4 separate regions of the Homo sapiens genome follow, and regions 1, 2 and 3 are each linked to region 4. Evidence: promoter capture Hi-C in human tissues and cell types (Jung and others, 2019). All regions are on one chromosome and are shown on one strand. The core of a region is centred on a gene start or on the middle of the fragment in contact, and the rest is flanking DNA. Distances in the headings are between cores, read along the strand shown.

Region 1 (2,700 bases), core at 82-2,581, 89 kb before region 4:
TTAACATTGGCTATTTCTCGAAGGGAGTTTCTTAGCAATCTTGAGGAATCCTAATGATGCTTGAGAGTTCTGTCTTTAACTTTGAAATAACCTATGAAAATAGAAAATATTCTGGTTAATTAAAAATGCCAACATAACTATAATGCTTTGAGAAAAAGTATATTATCAAGGTATCTTAAAACTTCAATTTTATCCAGGTTTTGCATACTCTCAAAACTGAAAAAGTTCTTTGGAGTAAAAACAATCAGTTATTCTGTGTCTAAAGGACACTAAATTTACATTCTTTTATAAAAACAGTAGTACATCTTTAACACTTGGGGACAGCAATTATAATACTAACATTAGTATTATTTCACAAAAATAAAACTGCCCTTTATTACAAAGGTGTATTTCTTTTTTATTTTTTTGAGACGGAGTTTCGCTCTTATTGCCCAGGCTGGGGTACAATGGCGTGATCTCGGCCCACCATAACCTCCACCTCCCAGGTTCAAGCGATTCTCCTGCCTCAGCCTCCCGAGTAGCTGGGATTACAGGCATGCAACACCACACCCGGCTAATTTTGTATTTTTAGTAGAGACGGAGTTTCTCCATGTTGGTAAGGCTGGTCTCGAACTCCCGACCTCAGGTGATCCACCCACCTCAGCCTCCCAAAGTGCTGGGATTACAGGTGTGAGCCACTGCGCCCAGCACAAAGGTGTATTTCTGATTGACTACTTGTTAAGTTCTTTAGAACAATGTATTTATCAGCAGAACTAATCAGCTAAAGACAAATTACTTAACATTTTTATGAATTAAAAATACCAGTGCTATGTGTTAACTTTTACCTAATCAAAATATGATTTTGAATACATGAATTCTTTTGGGAAAGAAGACTTCATAGTAAGTTGATACTGTCTTAAAACTTTGATAATTTGGGGTGCTCTAACTTAGATGGTGTTCATACTTGTACTACTCTTCTTGCTCATGAGACTACTGAGAAGATTCTGTGGTCCCTGGATACCTAACAATGGCCTTTTTTCACTTTATTCTCTCACTCAACATCCATTTAGAGCTTCAATATGTATCCAATTTTCTGACTGAATTATTTTGATCTAGTCAGTTGCTTAAGTTGAAAAAAAATTTCTGGGCATCTTAAGCTTTATATCAATCAGGGACTACCTAGTACTAAATTTTATGTTGAGAGTTTGCAAGATTAGCAAAAAATGATTTTACATAAGGAAAATTTTAAATGTTATATAGTTTGTTACTTCAGACATAGTATCTATAGCCCACAACATTTTTTGTGATGTACATGATTTTACTGTATTTTATGTACTTTAAGATGTGTTTTCTATAAAAAAAATTGAAGTTATCTTCTGGTTTCATGGGGACTAATTAGCTTGAGATGCCATCTAGTTTCAAACATTTGCTTAAAAACCTGAAGTTCCTTTGTAAGGTGGCTATAACCTGCTTTCCTGTTGTCTTTCTTGTTATTTTCATGCATCTTTTTTTTGAGCCTCATGAAATACATGTACTTTCTTTTAACCTACTCTACTACATTGCTGGTAAGGTTGTTCATTCTGCCTTCTATCTTCTATCATCTCTTCTCTAAAGTCTGCTAATATCCTCACATGGAGCTTCTACTGAACTTCTATCTCAAACCTGTCTTTTATGTGTTATAGTCATTCCATATATGTTATACCTTGTATGATAGTTATTTTGTTACATATAGCTATGTTTGATTTTATATTTTTTCTTTTTTTTTTTTTGAGACGGAGTCTCACTCTGTCGCCCAGGCTGGAATGCAGTGGCACGATCTCGGCTCACTGCAAGCTCCACCTGCCGGGTTCACGCCATTCTCCTGCCTCAGCCTCCCGAGTAGCTGGGACTACAGGCGCCCGCCACCACGCCCGGCTAATTTTTGTATTTTTAGTAGAGACGGGGTTTCACTGTGTTAGCCAGGATGGACTTGATCTCCTGACCTCGTGATCCACCCACCTTGGCCTCCCAAAGTGCTGGGATTACAGGCTTGATCCACCACGCCCGGCCGATTTTATATTTTTTCAAAACATTTATCTCAATATGTCCCAAATGGCAAGTGCATAAAGCGTTTGTCAAGTGAAGTTTTTTCTTGAGCACTTGTATGTGTCACTAGCGTTAACTACAGAATGCTGTGTGTATTTCAGTGGCCTCCAATACTATGACATCTGTATTAAGCCATGTATGCATCTCATTAGGAGTATTAGAACCAGTGTCTTTCCTATGAATTCAATTTCAGTAATATAGTATCACTGCAATTAACTGGAAGGATAGTACATTCACATTTTATGTAAAATAAAATAACCACCCCCCAAACTCTAATACTACTTTGACAGAAGCTCTAAATTGCTATGATACCAAATAGAAGCTAAACTATGCAATTAATACAAAATCACTAATGTATGAGATGCTATTATAAGTGAGGTAATGTAGGTGAAATGAATAGTCCTTCTTAGCTGCAATAATTAGCCAATTTAAGTTTTCCAAGCCTACTATGTCTTGCTGATACTATATATAGGTTTGAAAGAACAGGTTTTGGAAATACGTTTTGTCTTTTTTTCCTTTTTTGAGATGGAGTTTCACTCTTGTCACCCAGGCTGGAGTGCAAAGGTGTGATCTCGGCTCACTGCAACCTCTGCCTCCCAGGTTCAAGCAACTCTCCTGTCTCAGCCTCCCAAGTAG
Region 2 (2,700 bases), core at 12-2,511, 110 kb after region 4:
GATTCCTAAGGAAGATCTCTTTGCCAGGGTCTTGGGAAGATTTTTGTTCAAACAGTACTACCCCCCTGCCTTCTCTGTATCCCAGGGAATCGTGGAATTATGAGTCACTACTAATAGCAGTGTGTCAAACCCCTCCAAGAATGTTTTGAGACCCACTGGGCCTTTTGCACTAGAAATATATAGGCTTCATGGATAAACAACAGAACAAGGATTCAGTCCCTCACCAACTTTTTCCACTGACTGCAAGGGTGAAACCTGTGTTCCTTCATTCACTTAGAAATTCCACGAATGCATATTCACTGAACACCTGCTACAGGCCAGGCATCGTCCCAGGTGTTGGGATACAACTGGTGGACCAGTCACAGCCCTCGCCTTCAAGAAGCTCAAGATCTCATGAGGAACACAGTGTGCCATGGGCACACAGCAGGGAGAGCCTCCAACCTAATGCAGAGGAGTCAGGCACATTCCCTGGGGGAGGTGGGACTGTGCTGGGACCTGGAGGATGGGATAGAATTCTCCATGTGAAGGAAGAGGTGGTGGGGAGAGCTTTTCCTGGTGGGGAGGTGCAGCCTTTACAGAGGCCCAGCAATGCGGGAATTGAAAGTTCTCTGTGCAGCTGGAACCTAGCGAGGCAGGGAGGGTGGGAGGAGAGATGAGGCTGGAGAGGTCAGCTGGAGCCCAGTCACAGGTCTTCTATAAATTATGCTCAGGGTTTCAGATTTTGCTCGAAGGACAGTGAAGAGCCAGAGAAAATTTTGAGCTGGAGGTTTTATAAAGATTTTCTAAAGATTGCCTTCGCTGTGGTGTGGAGACTAGACTGGAGAGGTAGGGAAATGAATCAGGTGGCTGTCACTGTAGCCCAGGCACGGACAATTGTGGGCCAGAAGAGAGGAGCAGCAGTGGCACTTCTCCTGGCAGGCGACACTGAGTCCACTGCAGGAGAGGGGAAAACCCAAGATGACCCTTTGGAAAAGTGGGCAGATGGAGAGGCCATGTAGAGATTCAAAAGAGCAACACAGAATTGCCCAGGTGTTGTGTATATTTTTCAAAAATTGAAAATGAAAAGAGCAAAGGAATGCTTCCAAGGCATCTTGGAGTCAAAAGACATGAGAATGCATGAATAAGACCTTGATACCCCTCAGCGCTGGCCATCGCTGCGACGCCACTCTCATTCAGCACGCCTGCTCTTCAACCTCTAGCCTGTATTTTCAACACTTCAGAATCTTATGTAAACTATATCAGTACGCGGCCAGTCTCTACATCACCACGGCCCACTTGGCTCTTTTTGTTTTCTAATTTATAGAGGCAATTGAAACGAAGTCAGGACTAATTTTTTTAAAAAGATGATGAGCTGGTCCTACACTGGAAAGGCTGGCCAACATGTCCCATATGGCCAGCTCAAACCATTCTGCTTAAGGCTGGTCCTCTCCAAAATTGTTTAGGAGGGTTAACATTTTTGGTTCTTTCTATTTCTCCATAAGATAGCCATTCTCACTTCCTTCCAAGTTTCTAAGTTCCTTCTACTTATCTTCTCCTGTGGCTGCAGAGACCTATCCACACTCGAATCTCTGTCACACTCATGGCTCCAGAGTTTCCTGTCTTACAACCAGTCACATCTACTGGTCCTGTGTGGTAACTACTTAGGGCCTAAGTTTCTGATAAAGTAAATCAAGTATACTTTATTGTAAATTAGCCAATAAATAAATTAATTTATACTGCAAAATCATCAAATAAGGGAATCAAATAACTGCTACTTCAATGTGTTTCCTGCTCAGCCACACCTGGAGTGGCTGTACAGCAGCGACCAAGTGCACCAGGCATCAGTATGCCTGGGCTCAACTCCTAGTTCTGGCTCCCACCATGTGTCCCTGGGGCAAGGCGAGCTAATGTGTGTTTCAGTCTCTTCATCTGTAACATGGAAATGCCATGTGTCTGCTTAATAGGGCTGCTGGAAACTTTACATGAGATAAGGCATAAATTACTAATTACAGCGCCTGGCATATAGTGAGTGCTCAATAAAGATTTACAATGATTGCTATTGCTATTATTATTGCTATTGTAAAACGAGGAGTCTTTAAAGTCTTTTTTAACCCAAAGACAAGAGTAATGTGACAATTTCAATAACAATGATAGGGTCAATGTATAAACCCTAAAGGGAGCAAAGGGAGGGTTTTTTAGGTGTGCGTCTGTTTTAACCATATAAGAGGCTGTTTACTTTGCACAAACTCAGATCTAGTCTTGCATAGATATTAAATGATAGACTTGAAGTTCCTCAAGGTAGAGAGTGTGTCCTGTTCCCCGCTGTGCACCTCACATAAAGCCTGGCATGTAGCTGGTGCTCAGTCAGTTTTACTGAATGACTAAATAATAGAAACATCGTGGTGGGAGAGCGTCTAAAACCAATCCTGTTTCCTGACACCACGGCTACCAAAGCATTCCAATACCATTACCATGTTCGTTATCCTAAGAGTCTCATAAATTACTAGAAAGATCATTAAAATTTTGTTATTTAATTTAAATCTGAGATATATTATTTCACTGTTTTCAATTTTCTGCAATGATGACATTGTGTTTCACTCAATTCTCATTCTGGAAATTTCAGAGTAGCATGATACTCAATCACAGAAACTAGTAAATGGGTTACAAGTTTGCAATGGTGCCTGCAAATCAGTGATTTTTTTTTTCTTTCAGTTTTTCTTT
Region 3 (2,700 bases), core at 98-2,597, 69 kb before region 4:
TATTTGCTAGTTATGTGATTTATACACTGTGAAGGTTTATGTTTACATTCTGTTCTGTAACTGTAATTTCCACACAGCTCTTTATTTAAACACGAAGATAGGATATCATTCTCATAAATGTATTCAGCCTTCAACTCTATTCTGAGTGATGTAACTGTTCAAAATTCTATCTCCTTCCCATACCTACAGGAATAGCTTCCTTTTTCTGTACAGATTTCCTTTCATTAGGAGGATTTGCAAGTTCAAAGCTAAATATAAGATTCCTTTAGCTAAAACCAAATAAGAAATATGAGACCAAAAGAAATGTACAGACTTAATAAAGGGATACAGTAAATCAAAGATTTCAAAGAAAGCAATGGGATTTATACATGTTGTCTACATATATTTTCCATCTTCCATCTCTTCTTCCTTTTTTGGCCTCACCGTGATTGCACTGTTACTAAGCAGCTTAGTGGACCCATGGGAGCACAAGATGAGGACACGTCGGAGCAGGAGACAGGGGCTAGGTTATGCAGAGCCTCCAGGCCAAGCTGAGCGGGTTGGCTTTTCCTTCAAGTGAAACGGGGAACTTTGGAAGGTTTCCATCATGAGAATGATTTGATCTGACTGAAAAGTTTACAGGTCACTCTGCTACATGATAATAGAGTATGGGGTGGGGTGAGAAGGCAATTGCAGGGCTACCGCAATAATCTAAGTGGAGATGAAGATATCTTGGACTAGAATGGTGGTGGGGGAGGTGGGGAAAGCAGGTAGATTCAGAATATACTTTGGAGATGAAGCCAGCAGCATTGCTGGAGGATTCGTTGGGGCCAGGAGAGATGAATGAATGATGGCTCCTTGTTTTTTGGTGAGAGCAGATGGATGAGGGATGATGTCATTTACTGGGGGAAAACAGTAGAGTAGGAACATACTTTAGGAGAAAAACATTTTTAGATATGTTAAGGCTAGGTTGTCTGTTAAACATCAAAGAAGAGATATCCAATAGTCAGGTGGGTCTACCAGTGTATGATTCATGGGAGCAGCAATGAACACATCATTCAACATGGATGGGCCGGGTGCAGTGGCTCGCACCTGTAATCCCAGCACTTTGGGAGGCCTAGGCGGGCAGATCACGAGGTCAGGAGATCGAGACCATCCTGGCTAACATGGTGAAACCCTGTCTCTACTAAAAATACAAAAAATTTGCTGGGTGTGGTGGCATGTGCCTGTAATCCCAGCTACTCGGGAGGCTGAGGCAGGAGAATCGTTTGAACGTGGGAGGTGGAGGTTGCAGTGAGCCGAGATTGTGCCACTGCACTCCAGCCTGGGAGACAAGAGCGAAACTCCATCTAAAATAAATAAATAAACAAACAAACATAGATGTCACTGCTGGCCATGCAGAAGGACATGCATAGAAGCCCGAACGAAGTGCTTGAGGAGAGAATGGAATGTGGAGATTGGTGGGCATGGAGGATAGGTCACTGTTTCTAGTTTCACTGTGGAAGGGAAGACAGTGCATCCTGGAAGAGATGTGAAAGTCAAGAGGGATTTTTTTTCTTTTTTTGAGATGGAGTCTCACTCTGTTGCCCAGGCTGGAGTGCAGTGGCATGATCTTGGCTCACTGCAGCCTCCACCTCCAAGGCTCAAGCGATCCTCCCATGTCAGCCTCCGGAGTAGCTGGGACCACAGGTGTGTGCCACCACATCTGGCTAAGAGAAGGAATTTTTTTTTTTTTAAACCACAGGACATTCTAACATGCTTGTTTGCTGCTGGAATCACATAGTAGAAAGGGAGAAAAGCAATAATTCCGGACAATGAGGGAGGCTAATTGCAGAAGCTGGGACTTGAGAATTCCACAAGAGATGAGATCCAGAGGAAATCACTTTTGATTGATCAAGGACAATTCTTCCGTTGAAATGGGAGAAGACCTAGAATATGGGTTTCACAAATGTGAAGGGTGAGAATGAAGGAGTTTGGGTCTGAGTGCTTCTACTTTTTTCATATAGAGTGGGACCATGTTATGAGTGGAGCGGCCAGGGAGAAACGTGTTCAAGATTTGAGAACAGGAGGAGTGAAATAGCTTTTTTGCAGAGGATTTGAAGAAGAATTTTCTGTGGAAATAAAGTAAGTTTTCCCAATAGCATTGAGAGTGCATTTTAGATTCATGGTATGACTCAAAAGTGAGTGTTTTTCTCCAGCAAAGTTCAGATGATTCTGCACAGGCAGAGAGTAGGCAGGGAGTCGGATTCATCTATTTTTAAAAGCTATTAACATAACTTTCTGTTTTTCTTATGAGTTTCAGAGACATCGGCTGCTACTTATTCCCAAAGGAAAGGTAATTTAAAAACTAGGCAATACTTAGTCACACAGAATTACGTGATTCTAGAATTGGAAGGGAAATTATCAAAGAACCCAGGAGATAAAACACAATCACACTTCACCATTTACCAAGTCCCTGCTAAACATACAATATCGGGAGGCACATAAACAAAGCGGAAGGCATGGTCCCACCCACCAAGATGAGAGTTTATTGGGAATGTAAGAATATTACTCATCTCATATTCAACTTAAATTTTCCAGCTGCTTCATATTTCTGTCAAAAGTGAAAAACAAGGTAGTTATCAATGGGATGACTTTTGAGGTAATTTTTATTCTGAGCCTGCAAAAAATATTGTATTCAATGTATACAAAAAGTACCAACTGCATACCTGTAGCAAACAG
Region 4 (2,700 bases), core at 157-2,656:
ACACGTCAGATGTGTTTATATGTTTTTGAAAAATGTAAAACAAGGCTTGAAACGTTCCATTGTATGCGTCTGTAGGATACACATTTTGACATATTTTTAAAAGGATGTTGGTTCCCAAATCTCATAGGCATATATAAATAAAACAGAATTTAAAAGGTATTACCTTGTTCAAAATCTGTATGAGCAGATCAATCAGATTATAACACATACAATTATAAAATATGGCATGAGAAGAATACAAGAAAATAAAGTATAATACTCTGCAACTAAAAGTATAATATTCTGGAAGTTTACGCCTTTAGGTATTAAATGTTTTATATGTGATAACTGAAATAATACATTAATTTTCTATGAAGAAAAACATTGTGTTAGAAAAAAACCAGCTAGACCAAATAATGCTTTAGAATTAATTCTACAAATTTACTGACAGGAGAGAAACCCTGAGGTTTTATTTTTACCTTGTTTTCTCATTAGACAGTAGAGAACACCAAGTAAAGCTTGACTTTGACATTAAAGCATTATTTTCCGTTTTAGGCTGAGTGGTTTACTTTGCATCAGGTAAACTAAACTGTCTGCCACGTTTTCTTTGTAGCTAGAGTTAGAAGTTGGTAATTCCTAAGCCAAGTTCTCAGCTTTGGAAAACGTGCTCAAAATGCCTGGAAACTGAGGAGTGAGCATTAGGAAGACTTCCCCTGTCTGGGCTGATAGGAGCGGCTCCAGTTTGGCCAACGCAGGTCGTGCCCCGCGAACAGCGCGCTGCTGAACTTTTCATCCGGACGAGAAAAACGCTCAGATGCGCGCCAGCTCCAGGGAATGCCGGGGGGTGCCAGTCCCTCGCCTCTCCCACCCGGGACCCATCATTTGTTACGGAAGGGCGATGGGGTGTGTTTTATTTCTGTTATCACATATAAAACATTTAAAACCTAAAGGGGAGGAGGCACTCGAGCCTGGCAGCCTCGCCTTCCCTGAGCCCAGTGGCTCTCCTCGGAAAGTCGCTGCGGACCCAGAGGATGGGACACCTTTAGAGCGGACTTTGTCAAATCTCTGAGCCGCTCCGCAGCCACTTGACGGAGTTGCCGCCGCCCCCGGAGCTGGGCGCCGAAGCCCGGGAGCCAGCAGCGCCCCGTCCGCCCGCCCTCGCGCGCTTTCTGGCCGCCCTCGGCCCCGGGGCATCCACTGCGTCCCCCCGGACGCCGCCGGAGTCCCCACCTCGCAGCAAAAGCAAGAATGCCGACACCTACCCTGGTGATGACCAAAGGCTGGTTGAAGTCTATGCCCCCTGAGAGCCTGAAGCCCCAGGGCGCAGGGCCCGGGAGGATCACCGTCTGGGGCATGCCGCCTTCCTCCCGCCCACCGGGCTCTAAGTGTCCCCGCGCAGGGCAGCCACTCCGCGCCGGGCGGCGTCCTGGCCCCGACCCGGGCGGGGGCGCTTTATCCCCGCTGGGGGTGACGTCACCGCCCCGCCGTCCTCCCCGCCCCCTCCCACCCCGGAGAGCTCCAACTTTGGAAGCGAGAGCCGCGCCAGCCCCGCGGGAGTGCGCAGCCCGGCCGGCTGGGGCAGCCTCCCGGGCCGCGGCGGGCGCGGGGGCTTCGGGTTACAGCGTCCGTCGCTCTCTTGAAGTCACACCTGTCTCCCTGTTTATCTTCTGCTTGGAGCGCAGCAGTGCACTTTGTTGGAAGCGAAAGCAGCCAGACCACAGCCTCCATGCTTTCAATTAAAACGAGCATCATCGATACAATAAGTTATTTAGCAGTTTCGAGTGCGTTAATATTTACTTACGACCTCTGCGGCTTTGGCCAAATTACTTAATGTCCTTTTAAATTTTTATTTTATTTATTTATTTTTCTTAGAGACCGGGTCTCCACTTTGTTGCCCAGGCTAGTCTTGAACTCCTGGGCTCAAACAATCTTCCCACCTCAGCCTCCCAAAGTGCAGGAGAGTCTGGCCGGGGTCCTGTGGTAGTCTCAGTGTGGACTCAAGTATTTCTGGTGTTACGCGTTGGGATGTTGTGATTCCCAAAGGGAGAGGGGAGAATGAGGGAAGAGAAATAAGAAATGCTTTAAACACTCAAGAATAAGGGTCTTGGACTTAATGCCCCATATGATAGGGTCGTATTGGTCCAGGAGGACAGAGCTGCAGCAGACTTTTAAGAGGGCAGTCTGTTTGGAAGCAGTTTTAAGACTGATGGAGGAAAGAGAAAGGAGATGCAGAAAGCAGTAAGCAGTAAGCAGTAAGCAAAGCGAACCAGCCTGGGCAAATGTAAATCACAAAGGTAGGATGGGCATTACTTTGTCCGCTGTGGTGGATTACATAAAAGTCCCAGGGGATAAGCACTTTCTAGCTCCACACATTTCCCAGTGCCCCATCTATGCTGGACCATCGAGGAGCTGAACATTGTGTGTCCTGCTGACTGCCTGTTTGGGCTGTGGCTGTATCACTGCAGAGCACATTTCTTCAGTCAGCTGCTGGCTCTGTCTGCGTGGTGCAGACATACACGTGCACACACACAGAGGTCCATTCAGAAAAAAAAAATCAGACAAGTCATTTGGTGTTGTGTAATTATAGTAATTGTTTTTACCTTACTTCACGAGCTGGCTTATATAAACAGCTGATTTTTTCTTTGCCTTTTTGCTGGTCATTTTGGCATCATTTAGATGTAGCCAATATCTATACAATATCCACATAATATCTGATGAGTT

What was found. The method cuts DNA at HindIII sites, captures the fragments that hold promoters and counts their contacts. A contact is called where the count stands out against the background at its distance.
Region 1: a fragment that was not itself captured here is called in contact with the fragment with the promoter of PDLIM3 in region 4 in 2 of the 25 tissues and cell types used here (adrenal gland and neural progenitor cells).
Region 2: a fragment that was not itself captured here is called in contact with the fragment with the promoter of PDLIM3 in region 4 in 2 of the 25 tissues and cell types used here (heart left ventricle and stomach).
Region 3: a contact is called between a fragment that was not itself captured here and the fragment with the promoter of PDLIM3 in region 4, in 3 of the 25 tissues and cell types used here (adrenal gland, heart left ventricle and thymus).

What each region holds. Positions count from the first base shown.
Region 1 is chr4:185,445,452-185,448,151 of GRCh38, forward strand. The region is part of intron 7 of CFAP96 (cilia and flagella associated protein 96); the gene reads left to right. It overlaps CCDC110 (coiled-coil domain containing 110), which reads right to left. Exons shown (of 7, transcript NM_152775.4): 7 at 1-91. The coding sequence ends at 51. Among named protein-coding and RNA genes, the nearest start is that of CFAP96, 21 kb to the left of the region's middle. The HindIII fragment of the contact is 5,331 bases long and covers 1-2,700 here.
Region 2 is chr4:185,642,723-185,645,422 of GRCh38, forward strand. The region is part of intron 13 of SORBS2 (sorbin and SH3 domain containing 2); the gene reads right to left. Among named protein-coding and RNA genes, the nearest start is that of SORBS2-AS1, 56 kb to the left of the region's middle. The HindIII fragment of the contact is 5,438 bases long and covers 1-2,700 here.
Region 3 is chr4:185,465,045-185,467,744 of GRCh38, forward strand. All of the region lies in intron 2 of CCDC110 (coiled-coil domain containing 110), which reads right to left. Among named protein-coding and RNA genes, the nearest start is that of CCDC110, 5.3 kb to the right of the region's middle. The HindIII fragment of the contact is 5,468 bases long and covers 1-2,700 here.
Region 4 is chr4:185,534,101-185,536,800 of GRCh38, forward strand. PDLIM3 (PDZ and LIM domain 3) reads right to left here and starts at 1,407. Exons shown (of 8, transcript NM_014476.6): 1 at 1,242-1,407. The coding sequence starts at 1,334. The HindIII fragment of the contact is 14,334 bases long and covers 155-2,700 here.